4 separate regions of the Homo sapiens genome follow, and all the other regions are linked to region 4. Evidence: promoter capture Hi-C in 16 types of primary human blood cells and fetal thymus (Javierre and others, 2016). All regions are on one chromosome and are shown on one strand. Each heading gives the region's core, a stretch centred on a gene start or on the middle of the fragment in contact. The rest is flanking DNA. Distances are from core to core; before and after follow the strand shown. Region 1 has its middle 41 kb from the start of ZNF396. Region 2 overlaps LOC105372063 (a long non-coding RNA gene). Region 3 holds the start of LOC124904284 (a long non-coding RNA gene). Region 4 holds the start of GALNT1 (polypeptide N-acetylgalactosaminyltransferase 1).

Region 1 (3,284 bases), core at 249-2,748, 160 kb after region 4:
TAAGAAAGAAAAGTAAGAAACGGAAACAAAAATAAATTCCTTTTTTATATACTAGGAATGAACAATCATATATTGATATTAAAATACAATGTTTCCAAAAAATGAAAAGCTTGGGATACATCTGACAAAAGATGTGAAAGAGCTCTACACTGAAAAATATAAAACAATGCTGAGATAAATAAAAGAAAATCTAAATAAAAGGAGATTATATTTTGTTCGGTGGTAAGAAAACACAACATATAGTTGTGATGTCAATTCTCCCTAAATTAATCTATATATTCAATTCAATCTCAAAATCCAGTATTATTCATATAGAAATTGATATTTTGATTCTAAAATTCACATAGAAATGCAAAAACCTGAAATATTCAAACAACTTTGAAAAATAAGAGAAAAATTGCGGTTAACTCTACCAGACTTCAAGACACTGTAATGCTGTGATAGTCAAAACAGTGTTGTATTGGCATAGCAATAAACAATCAGATAAATGGAACAGAATACAGAGTCCAGATATAGACCCAAACATACATTGACAAAGGATTTTTGACAAAGGTACAGGGAAATCCAGTAGAGAAAAAGTATCTTAGTTCATTCAGGCAGCTATAACAAAAATACCTTAGACTGAGTAATTTATACATAATAGAAATGTATTGCTCACAGTTCTGGAGGCTGGGAAGTCCAAAATCAATGCACTATCAGATTTAGTGTCTGGTGAGGGAATGATCTCTTTTTCCAAGGTGGCACCTTGTTACTGCATCCTCACATGGCAGGTCAAGGCTGTTCCCTTCAACCTCTTTTATAAGGGCAGTAATCCCATTCATGGCATCTCTGCCTCATGACTTAATCACTTCCTAAAAGTCCCACCTCTCAATACTGTCAGATTTGTGATTAAATTTCAACATCTGAATTTTGGGAGGACACATCCAGATCATTGCAGATAGCCTTTTTAACAAATGATGCTGGAACAATTGCATATCCACATGAAAACAAATGAACTATTCATACTTCACACTATATATAAATATTAACACAAAATGGATCTATATTAGTCCATTCTTACACTGCTATAAAGAACTGCCCTGGACTGGGTAATTTATAAAGAAAAGAGGTTTAACTGACTCACAGTTCCATATGGCTGGGGCCTCAGGAAACTTAAAATCATGGTGGAAAGGGAAGCAGGCATGTCTTACACGGTTGCAGGCGAGAGAGAGAATGTGTGAGAGTGCAGGAAAAACTACCATTTATAGCCATTTATAAAACAATCAGATGTCATGAGAATTCACTCACTATTACGAGAACAGCATGGGGGAAATGGCCTTCATAATCCAGTCACTTCCCTCTCTCAACACATGGGGATTAAAATTCGAGATGAGATTTGGGTGAGGACACACAGCTAAACCATATCAGGGTCATTGACTGTGGTAAGAAGAATTACGTCCACCAAAAAGTTTCTATACCCTGATCCCCAAGACTGAATATGTTACATAGCAAAAATGACTTTGCAGAGGTAATTAAGGTTACTAATCAGCTGACTTAGAATAGGGAGGCTACCCTGGATTTCCACGTGGTTCCAATGTAATCCACATGTGTCCTTAAAAGCAGAAGAAAAAGACAGAAATGGAAGTTAGAGGGAGTCAAAGCATGAAGAGTCAGTGTACCATTGCTTGTTTGAAGATGGAGCTTGGCCATGTGAGAAGAAATACGGACAGCCTTAAATTGCTGAGAGAAAGGCCCTTGGCTAATAGCCAGCAAGGAACAGAGATCTCAGTCGTATGACCATAAGTAATTGAATTACTTCAATAAGTAATTACTTTGGCCAACTTCAATTACTTGTGTAATTACTTCTTGAAGTAATAAGGAACTGTTGATTCATGCTACAAGATGGATGAATTTCAAAATTATCAAGCCAAATGAATGTAATTACTTACTGAAGTAATTACACAAGTAACTGAAATTGGCCAAAGACCTTAGTTTGCTTGGAAGAGGACCCAAAGACACAGAACTGCAGCTTTAGCCAATAACTTGATTTTAGCCCAAAGAATACAGTCATGCCATGCTGGATTTCTAACCTATAGAAACAGTAAGATAATAAATTTGCATTGTTTTAAGCTGCTACATTTCTGGTAATTTGTTATGCTGCAGTAGAAAAGTAGTAAATAGGCCTTAATTTAAAACCTAAAACCACAAAACCTCTAGAAGAAAACATGAAATGTTCATCATAAACTTGAGTTAAGCAAAGACTTATATACAACACTTACACACCACACTTCTTATATACACAATTCCTTTACATACAGACGCGTTTCATAAAAGAACAATTTGATAAAGTAGACCTCATCCATAAAACAGTTGTTCTTCAAGAGACTGTTATGAGAATGAACATACAAGCCAGAGACTAGGAGAAAATATTTGTAAATTACATATATAATAAAGAACTTCTATCTGGAATATATGTAGACTTCTCAAAGCACAATAAAAGAAAAACAGACAAACCAATTTTAAAAGTAGGCAAAAGGCTTAAACACTCATTTCACTGAAGAGGATACATGAATGGCAAATAAGCAAAATATGCCCAACATCTTTGTAATTAGGAAAATGAAAATTAAAACCACAATAAGATACCTCTGCACTCCTGCTAGAATGGCTAAAATTAAAAAGACTAATCATACAACCTGCTGGTAAGGATTTGAAGGAACTAGAACTCTTACACTGCTTGTGGGAATGTAAAATTATACCAACACTTTGAAAAACAGTCTGGCAACTTCTTAAGAAGTTAAACATATACCTACCCTCTAACCCAATCATTTCTTTCCCATGTACTTACCCAAAAGAAAAGAAAGCATATGTTCCTGCAAACAATTTTATGCAAATGTTCATAGAAGCTTTATTTGTAATAGCCAACAACTGAAAACAACTCAACTGTCCACTGACCAGTGAATGGGTAAATAAATTGTGGTATATCCATACAGTGGAATACTACTCAGCAATAAACAGGAAGGAATTGTTGATTCGTGCTACAAGATGGATGAATCTCAAAATTATCATGCCAAATGAAAGAAGCCAGACAAAAAAGTACCTCCTGTATGATTCCATTAACTAAAAACTTTAGAAAATGCAAACTAATCTATAGTGATGAGAGGGCATCACAGGTTACACAAAGACAGGGATGTGGAGAGAGATGGGAGAAAGGAATTACAAAAGGACACAAGGAAGTCTGAGGGGATTATGGATTTGTTCACTATCTTGATATTTGTGATGGTTTCATGGGTTAATCCGTATGTCAA
Region 2 (3,575 bases), core at 1,051-3,550, 180 kb after region 4:
GCCCACCTCGGCCTCCCAAAGTGCTGGGATTACAGGCGTGAGCCACGGCACCCAGCCTATTGTGCCTTTTCTAACCTTTTGAAATGAATGCTTTCTTTGTTAATTTTCACCTTTTATGCACTAAAGATTACAAGTTTTCTTTTCAGTACTGCCTTAGCTACATCTTACATTTTAATGTGTAGTATTTTACTACCATTTACTTATTTTAATTGGGAGTTAATTGTTATTCATTTTAGTATTTTTAATTTATATTTAAATTACTTTAAATTGACAAATAAATTGGATATATTCATCATGTACCACGTGATGTTTTGAAATATGTATACATTGTAGAATGGCTAAATCAAGCTAATTAACATACTCATTACCTTACATACTTATCACTGTGGTGAGAACATTTAAAATCTACTCTTGGTGATTCAAGATATCACCATTTAATTTAAAATGTTTTATAATATTCATTGTAAATTATTTTTGGACACATGGATTATTTAGAAATATATTTTATAATCTCCAAACATAAGAATATTTTTAAAGTTGTCTTTTTGTAATTTTGTAATTAATTTCTAGCTTAATTGCATTGTGGTAAGCAAACATTCTGTATAATTTTAATCCTGTGAAAATTGTGTATGATTTTCAACCCTGTGAGATTTGTTGAGACTTACTTTAGAGCCCAGCATATGGTCAGTTTTGGTGAAGATTCCATGCGTCCTTGAAAAGAAAATGTATTCAGCAGTTGTTGGGTGCAGTATTCTGTATATTCTGTATATATTAAATATATATTCTATATTCTGTATAGAAATCCAGTTTATTAATTGAATTGTTCAAATCTTCTAAATTTTTGCTGAGTTTTTTGTCTGCTCAATTCTATGTTTCCAAGAGAAATACAGGATATTAGCTACAAGACTTCTGTACATGCTAAATAACAGTGACTTAAACAAGACAGAGAGTTTATTTCCCCTTGGTGTGAAAGTCTCAGTAGGTGGGTGAACAAGGAGTGTATGTGTCTCTGCAACTTACTATTATTCAGGGATCCAGGTTATTCTATCTGTGGCTTCAGCCAACCCCTACAGGGTTGTTCACATCTACCAGGTAGAAATAGGCCAATCATTTGCATGACCATTTTCTACTTTATAGAAATAAAATGTAAGCTGAGAGCAAGGAGCTTTCTTTTCAGGATATGAGTGGGAAGTTACTTACACACATGGTCACACCTTGCTGCATGGGGGGCTGGGAGGTGTTTTGCCCTTGAGTGGCTGTATTCATTTCCTACTGCTGCTGTTACAAATTACCACAAACGTGGTGACTTAAAACAGCATGAATTTATTGTTTTACAGTTCTAGAAGTTAGAAGTGTAAAATGGTCTAACTTGGCTAAAACAAAGGTGTTGTCAGGGCTGTGCCAACAGCCTTGGAGCCTTCTAGAGGCTACATGAGAGAATCTGTTTCCTTGTCTTTTCCAGCTTCTAGAGATCGCCTACATTCCATGGCTCATGGCCCCTTCTTCCACCTTCACGTCCAGCAATGTAGCACATTCGTTTCTCTGACTCCAACCTCTTCTTCTGCCTCCCTCTTCCATTTAAAGACCCTGTGCTTACACTGGACCCACCAGGATTATCCAAGATAATTTCTTATTTTTAAAGTTAGTTAATTAGCAACCTTAATTCCATCTGCAATCTTAATTCCCCCATGCCAGGCAACATAACATAGTCACAGGTTTCAGGGATAGAACATGGCCATCTTTGGAGAACATTAGTCTGTCTACCACACCTGCCATTCTCAATGTGCTTGCATTTCATTTTTTGCTTTATTATCTCATGATTTCCAAACCGTGCAGCTTCAAGCATCACTTTCTTACACAACTGCATTGAAGTCAGGAAGAAAATGGCAAGGGGGAAAGGGCTTTCCTTTTATCAGGAGCAAAGTCTTTCCCAAATGCTTTCCAGGTCATTTTTTCCTTTGTTCTCATTGCTAATAACTGGATCTCTTGGCCATTCATCCTAGCAACAAATGAGGCTGGAAATGTAAGTAGGTAATAAAAAGAGAAGGAGTTGGATTACAATGACTGGTTTCAAAAAGAGAGAACTGCTATTGGGCAGGCATCTAATGGTGCCTGCTCAGAAAGCCACCAGCTCCTAAGCTTTAGTCACCTGCCTTCCCGTTTTCTAGTTTTCTCATTCTACTAGCCTGTCACACTTTAACTCATGCTAGCATGCATTTTCCCCACTAACTATTGTTTATGCTATGAACTTTGTATTTGAGATCCTTCAGATGTCAGCTTTGAATTTTCAAAGATGAATTTTTATAACTCAAGAAAAGAAAGGAAAGGAATGAGGAAATTTCTCAAAAAGCCCACTATTTAAAAAGATAAATGTTCTATTGGAATTTTTAAAATATTGGTTTTAAAGACTATTGTTCCCACTATGTGGTTAAAAAAACTATTTGGAAAAACTCTAAGCTTTTCTGTCCCTTGAAACAATACCCACTTCAGGCTCATGACTTGAGTGATAGAAAGGCTATGAGGTGAGAAGGAAATTTACTGAGAACAGCATCATCAGAAGTTGCTGTTTCAGAGTCTTATCCTATCACAAACGTCTCTACTTAATGCCTCCTTTCTGCTCCTCTAATTTAGTCATCAGCTGATTGCAATCTTCACGTTCACTCAAAGCCTTCCCTGTAAACAGTTCTAGGAAAGGGGACCAAGGATCTTCATACTGTCCAATTCGATGAAGATTTTCTTGGTCCTGGGCAAAGAAGCCCTGGAAGAAGCCCCCATGGCAGACTCCTAGGACCTAGGAGAGGCCTCTGCTCCTGAAGCCACTGAGGAGCAAGCCTCCAGCCTCCAGGATGCTCTGAAGCACAAAAGGAATGAATCCTGGAGAGGAGCTCAGCCCTAGCTCAATGGTTAACAGGCACTTCCTGTCTGCAGAGAGGATTCAGTGGGATGGTGTGTATGAGGCACTTGTCACAGTAGTATCAAGTGCCTATGAAATGTGAGCTATTTTGTTGCTAGGATTAGTAAGTTGATTTCTGATACAGGAAAAGGAGAATCTACTACTTACGCTCCTTGGCTGTCTTGTGTGGGAAACAATTTGGAAATGTATAAAATCTGTATTCCTCTCCAGCCTTCATTATCTCAGAGGAAAGAGTGTCTCTCTTTCTATAGCACTATAGAAAGGTGGTCACTGTCACTATAAGGCAGTTCCTTCAGCAGGGAAAATATCTTTTGTTAACTGTAATTGGAGCCACATTTTAATAATGTTAGAAGTTCAGTCTCCTTATTCTGAGTTCCTCTAAGTGCTCTATAAAACAAAGCATTATTTTAAAATAAATGTGACTATGTGCATGATAGTGTTACAGCAGCCTTGCAAATTACTTAGGAAATTTCATTATGTTTCCATGTATAAAACTATGTTATTAAGTATTGCCCTCCTTTAGGAGACATCTATGACCCAAGGAAGTTTTGCAATTTGCCATTCCTAAATGATTTCTGAGGAGGGAAACTCAGAGTAATAACTGTTTTGCTGTTTCACTCCACAGCCATGATGACTGTTGAATTTTAATAAAGGTACTGTA
Region 3 (3,091 bases), core at 273-2,772, 140 kb after region 4:
GCTGGACCCAGGGGCCCCAGTAGGCATGGTAAGGTCCTGGGCTTTTACTATTAGTGGTCTGGGGAGCCTCAGAGGGTTCTGAACAGCAGAGTGATGTGGGCTGACTTCGGTTTCAACAGATTCCTCTGGCTGCTGAGTAACTAGACTACAGGGGCCCATGGGGGACAAAGCTGGCATCACTGTTAGACAGTTCACCACAAGTGGGCAAGCAAGTAAAATAGTGAGGAATAATAATGAATGTTATGAGACAAGCAAAGAACGGGCTGGGGAGGATGCATATGGGGAGGGGAGACAACGTCGCTCCCTTAAGGAAGAAGGTGACACTTAGGCGAGGCACAAAGTAGGAGAAAGAGCCGGGTTAGAGAGTTCCCAGTGGAGGCAACAGCCTGTGCAAGAGCCCTGAACAGTGTGGGGAGGAGGAAAGACAGGGTCCAGAGACGGAGTCACTTGCCACCATCGTCACCGGTCAGCCATCCCTGCTTGGCCTCTCCCAAGGATAGCACTTTGCATCCAGGGCACTGGCCTCACACTCCTGCCGTTTTCCTCAGAGTCACAGAGCCAGGTCTGGATAGCACTTCGCTAGGGGCCCAAGAACAGCCCTGATTTCACAGTGAGCATGAGTTATACCTTCCTCTGTGAGGGTGAGAAGTTGTGGGAAAAATGAAACTCAATCTATTAAATGTGTCTGCTTCCCAAAGCTTCAAACCCACACATGGCAGGACCTGGTAGCCCAGGAGAGAAGGACAGGGCAGGTGGGCTTTTGTCCCAGATAGCAGACACAGGACTGCTATCTTGGATATGTAGAAGTCAAAGTCGGAGTGAACAGACTTTAACAAAATATGCATATCATGTTTATCAGTTTTCTGGGGCCGCTGTAACAAAGCACCACAAACTGGCTGGGCTGAAATGACAGAAACTTATTCTCTCAGTTCTGAAGACTAAATGTCTAAAACCAAGGTACAATCAGGGCATACCCTCCCTAAAGTTCTTAGGGGTGGATCCTTCCTTGCTTCTCCCAAATTCTGATAGCCCCAGGTATTCCTTGGCTTATGGTAACATAAGTCCAATCTCAGCCTCCATTTTCACACACTGGCCTCTCTCTGTGTCTTCGCATCACATCATCTTCCTTTTTTTTATTTATTTATTTTTATTTATTTTTATTTTATTTTATTTTTGAGATGGGGTTTCACTCTTGTTGCCCAGGCTAGAGTGTAATGGCGCAATCTCAGCTCACTGCAACCTCCGCCTCCCAGGTTCAAGCAATTCTCCTGCCTCAGCCTCCCGGGTAGCTGGGATTACAGACACCTGCCACCACGCCCAGCTAATTTTTTTGTATTTTTAGTAGAGATGGGGTTTCACCATGTTGGCCAGGCTGGTCTCGAACTCCTGACCTCAGGTGATCCACCCACCTCGGCCTCGCAAAGTGCTGGGATTACAGGCATGAGCCACACCGCCCGGCCTCTTCCCTCTTCTTATAAGGACACCAGTCATATTAAATTAGGGCCCACCCTAATGACCTCATTTTCACTAATTACATCTGCAATGACCTTATATCCAAATAAGGTCACACTCTGAGGTACTGGGGGTAGGACTTCAGTGGATCCTTTTGGAGAACATAGTTCTGACCATAGTCATGTCACACCAGGAAAGAGACAGTGATGAGAAAGGACTGGCAGCTTTTGCTTTGCGGGATCAAGTCACAGATTTTGCTCCAGAGAAGCCATTCTGAGCTCATGTCCACACCCTGGGTCTGCTGACTCTGAATCACTCCCACTAATACCTTTAAAAATATGCTTCAATCTGAGTGCTTCTGTTATTGATTTTGTGTAAAACTTATTTTTATGCTCTTAAGCCAGGAAATTTTTGTTAGAGGTACACTGCTTTACAGGCACACAAGGCTGAATGACTGGTCTTTTATCCCTTCCTCTGCCATGGCCACAACACCTCCCAGTTGGGAAGTAAGTGGGGGTAGATAAGGCCAGGACAGATTCTGGAAGGCCCAGGAAGCCAGGGGAACTTGGACTGGCTTAGGGAGGCAGTAGGGAGCCATTCAGGTCCCCAGCAGGGGAGTGATATGGGAGACACAGAGTTCCCAGGGCTGGGCAGGGCAGGATGAAGGAGACAAAACAGGGCAGTGAAGTGTAAATGACAGGAGCAGGAATTAAGCCATCAAGATGAAGTTGCAAGCATATTATCTGATATTTTCAGACTTGGGGAGACAAAGATGAACCTGAAGCTCCTCTTTGGGAGACAGTGAGACTCAGGGAACGATGTGTTGTCAGTGATAAAAACGAGGGCATGCAGGAAAAATAGGGAAGGAGAGCTTTAAGAAGAAGGGGAAGCTTAATGGCTTCAAACTTCATCTGAAGGCAAGTGTGTGGTGGTTCTTGAAGAAAAACCTTCTTCTTCAGATGTCTTCTTCCTCCTCTTCACAGATGGCTCTTTGCTCTGCTTCCAGGATCCTGGATGTCTCAGTCTCCCCAGGTGATCATGTGGCCTCAGAAGCCAGAGCTAGATGTGCTCCTGATCTTGTAGCCCCTCGTCCTATGCCTCATCAAAACCAGGGGTCATTGGAATGGACTGAAGAAGGAGAAAACTAGAAAGGATCTGAGGGAAGTGGTCTGGCTGAAAGCTTGACGTGGACAGAGTCCTGGCTCTCAGGCAGACACTTAAATTCTCCTGGTGCTGCAGACATCACAGCTGAATCCATTTAAAAGAGGATGGCAAATATATAAATCATGACCTCAAAATTCCTTCAATCTCTCACAGGACACCAGGGAAATATTTTATTATCCCTCAATAACAACCAGGGTCAGGAATAAATTTGGAATTCTTTAATTTAGGCTCCAGTTCATTTGCTAAATTAAATGCTTGAAATAATTTCCTGCTATGAAAATATGAGACTCTTACTATTCAGATAAATAGACTTTTCAAATCAAAGGCTTGAAATCTTAAGAATTATCTCAAAATGCCTTTTGAAAAACCTTTTCTGTTTTGGATCATAAAATGTCAAAGGCACACTATCATGAACCACAGTTTCTCTAAATTTAGCTTTACTTATTAGTATGCAGTCATATCTAAGTTAATAAGA
Region 4 (3,250 bases), core at 690-3,189:
CTGTCACTCTGGAATAGCTAGGACTACAGACGCATGCCACCACACCCAGCTAACAACCACGCTTAAGTATCCTAGCACACTCATTCGTTTATCCAACAAGCATTTATACCAAGTGCTTATTGCTTACCAGGCACTGTAAAGTCTTCAGTGATACATGGCTGGAAAAGGAAGCCACAATCTCTGCTCTCATAAAGCTTAAACTCTATTGAGAAAGCCAGGCATTTAACAAGTATTTGCATAAATGGTGAGTGCTCCCAAGAGTTTTGCAGTCTGCTGCTTAAGAGGCACCAAACAAACCAGCAGAGCAGTCATTAAACGCAGTTATCACCAGCACGCTGAACAAAGGCTTCTCAGGTTTCAAAGTGCACACAAATAACTTGAAATCCTGGTAAAGCAGATACTGATTCAGTTGATGTGCAGCGGGGCTTCACATTCTGCATTACTTGAGTCTGAGGTGACAGGGATGCTGCTGGTACACCATCCACACTTGGAATAGCAGGACTCGGAGTACCATGGAAACATCCTCAAAGGATCATGTAAAATGTCAATTCCAATAGGGCAAGGACATTGTGTCTCCCTTATTCACCATGTACCCAGAACTTAAAACTGTGCCTCATAGACAGATCGCATTCAGTAAATATTTACTGACACAACAAATGTATGTATAATTTAGACCAGGGCTGTTCAACTGTAGCAAAGAACCACATTTAGCTATGGAACACTTGAAATGTGGCTACTGTGACCGAGGAGCTGAATTTTTAAAATTTAATTTTAATAGTCACATGTGGTTAGTGGCTCCCACGCTGGACAGTCCAGGTCTGGACACAGATGTGATGTAAAGAGGACTGGACTAACAAGGTCTAGGTTTGAATCCCAACTCTGCTGCTCAGATTGTGACCTGAAAAGTTGCAACTTCTTAGGGCCTTCACTATTTCATCTGTGAAATGACAAGACCTCCTAACTCTCAGCGTTCTTGACACGATTATAAAGCAATGTATTAAACATAAGATATGATCAAAGTGACATTCTCTGCCCTCCAGAAACAGTTCAGAAAGACTACTTTGCCTATTGCCCACTTGACCAAAAAAATGCCAAGTGAGTTTGGTAGACGGGTTGGTTAGCTCAGTGGCTTTGAGAATGAGGACAAGGTCACAAATCTGGGGAGTAAGGGAACCTCATCTAGCAAGGCTGACCAGATAAGAGAAGCAATGACAATGCAAATCATCCCAATTCCTGGTAAATGCTTAAATGGGCAACGTATTGATTATGGATGAGTAAATGACATCTCATTCATTCATTCTTCCAGGAAAAGCGGAAAAGCTACTACATTACCTAAAGCCCGCTACTTCCCAACCACAAACATTTGCTAATTTAGGTCCGGGTCCTCCTCGGGGGCAGCGGGCCGGGAAGCCCCCTCCCCCGCTGCCGGCGTGTCTTCCCCTCCCCCGTGGCGCCGCGAGGGTCAGGCTGGCACCGCGGTTGCAAGTACCACACGGCCGAACCCAGAAGCCATATTTAGCTTTATTTTTGTCAATAAAACAAACTTCCGTCTTCTAAAGAAAAACGGTTCTAACTCAATGTCAAACTAGGACGGAAACTCGCTGCTCGCCAAAGCTGCCAACCAGAGACGCCGCGTGTCCAACGGCACCGGGGTCCCAGACCCGAACCCGCGCCGAGCGTGCCCGCGCCCCGGCCCCAGGCAGCGCCGGCCACAAAGGGACCGGGGACGCGGCCGCGGCGGGGCCTCTTTCTCCACCTCCGACCCGCGCGCAGCGCTGCGGCTCCGGGACTGCCCAGCCGCGGGCGATACACTCACCTCGCTAGGCGCGCGGCGGCGGCGGCGGCAGGCGTCCTCCGGGCCGGCCGCGGCGGTCGCGGCCGGTCCCGCGGCCAGCGCGCTACTCTCGGGCCGCCGTCCGCCGCGCGCTCCTCGGCCACTGCCGGCGGCTCCCCCGGCGGGCGGGCGGGTCCGGCCGGGCCCCGCTCCGCCGCGCCCGCCCCCGCCTCCGCGCCCGGCTCGGGTCGGCGGCTACTCCGGGCGCCCCGCTCGCGGGCTCGGGCGGCGCTACTCCGGGCCGCCCCGCATGCGCGCCGCCTGCCCGCTCACTTGGGGCTCGTCGCGCGGCGGGCGCCGCAGGGCGCCCGCAGGCGCTCGGGCGCGGTCCTCCCTGCGCTGCGTGCTCGGCGGCAGCGGCGGCGGCGGCCCGTGCGGCTGCGCGGGGGAGGCGGGGGCGCCGGCGCTCACCCGGATGCGCGCCCCCTCCGCTGCGGCGAGCCCACCGCGGGGCCGCGACGCTCCCCTCGGGCTCGGGACTCCGGGGTCGGGCGCGGCGCCCCTCCCGGACCGACCGCCCAGTCCCGGCCCCCGCTCACACGGCTACGGGCAGGGCCGGGCCAGGCCGAGAGGTGCCCCCGACCCTGGGTCGGGACAAAGAGGCTGCCGCAGCAAGTTAAAGACAACTCGGGCTGTTGCGCGTCGAGCAGGTCACGGGGTGGGAGGAGATGGAGGAGCCCTCACAGCGGATCGGCTCCCGGGCCGAGCGCGGGGCCGCCCCAACCCGGTCGGCTGCCTGAGGCGGCCGCGAGCGCGGGAGCTGGAGCGCTGTCAGCCGCGCTGAGCCTGCGCCTGGCGACCGCGATGCAGGAGGCCCGGGACTGAGGGAGGACGGCGAGAGCGGAGGCCCGCGACCCGCACCGCCGGGGCAGGCACCCGGGTCTCGGGGGCAGCAACGCCGGGGCCCTTGCAGAACGGGGACTGTTTGGGGAAGTGGCTCCCGCACAGTGCCCGGAGAGGGGCCCTCCCTCTGTGCCCCCTTGGGAAACACTGCTTGGTACAATTCCAATACCCAGCTGTACCCTGCCCTGAAGATAGAAGACAAAACCCTGGCTCTGTCACTCACGCGAGGCATAACCAACCATTCTTTTAATAAATTAATTTTCTACTTAAATAATTCAGAGGTTTGTGTCTTATTGCTTGCCAACCAAGAGCTGCAATAAGAGATTACTTAATATTTAAGTGGTCCCACTTTTAAATTTATATTACCTCTCACATAACCAAAAGGCTGTCCGAAAAAAAAAAAAAAAAACCTGAAGATTATCTCTGGAATTTTAGTATCCTGTTTTTGCTTGTCTACATCTTCCAAGTATTCTAAAATAAAAGTTAAAAGTTACTATTTTAAAAGTACTTATATAATATTTTGAAACAAAGTCAATCATGACTAGCCTGTTACTGTTCCACAAGGAAACTTCA

Evidence for each region. The method cuts DNA at HindIII sites, captures the fragments that hold promoters and counts their contacts. A CHiCAGO score of 5 or more calls a contact.
Region 1: a contact is called between a fragment that was not itself captured here and the fragment with the promoter of GALNT1 in region 4, in 8 of 17 cell types (M2 macrophages, erythroblasts, M0 macrophages and 5 more). The highest score is 10.6, in M2 macrophages.
Region 2: a contact is called between a fragment that was not itself captured here and the fragment with the promoter of GALNT1 in region 4, in 4 of 17 cell types (M2 macrophages, M0 macrophages, M1 macrophages and 1 more). The highest score is 12.6, in M2 macrophages.
Region 3: a contact is called between a fragment that was not itself captured here and the fragment with the promoter of GALNT1 in region 4, in 2 of 17 cell types (M2 macrophages and neutrophils). The highest score is 5.7, in M2 macrophages.

Annotation. Positions count from the first base shown.
Region 1 is chr18:35,417,103-35,420,386 of GRCh38, reverse strand. No RefSeq gene overlaps it. Among named protein-coding and RNA genes, the nearest start is that of ZNF396, 41 kb to the right of the region's middle. The HindIII fragment of the contact is 2,773 bases long and covers 112-2,884 here.
Region 2 is chr18:35,397,520-35,401,094 of GRCh38, reverse strand. It overlaps LOC105372063 (a long non-coding RNA gene), which reads left to right. Exons shown (of 3, transcript XR_935376.3): 3 at 3,540-3,575. Among named protein-coding and RNA genes, the nearest start is that of ZNF396, 22 kb to the right of the region's middle. The HindIII fragment of the contact is 318 bases long and covers 2,142-2,459 here.
Region 3 is chr18:35,437,634-35,440,724 of GRCh38, reverse strand. It overlaps LOC124904284 (a long non-coding RNA gene), which reads left to right and starts at 1,554. Exons shown (of 2, transcript XR_007066341.1): 1 at 1,554-1,958; 2 at 2,436-3,091. The HindIII fragment of the contact is 1,644 bases long and covers 701-2,344 here.
Region 4 is chr18:35,580,429-35,583,678 of GRCh38, reverse strand. GALNT1 (polypeptide N-acetylgalactosaminyltransferase 1) reads right to left here and starts at 1,939. Exons shown (of 12, transcript NM_020474.4): 1 at 1,817-1,939. RefSeq lists a silencer at 2,198-2,897. The HindIII fragment of the contact is 12,017 bases long and covers 197-3,250 here.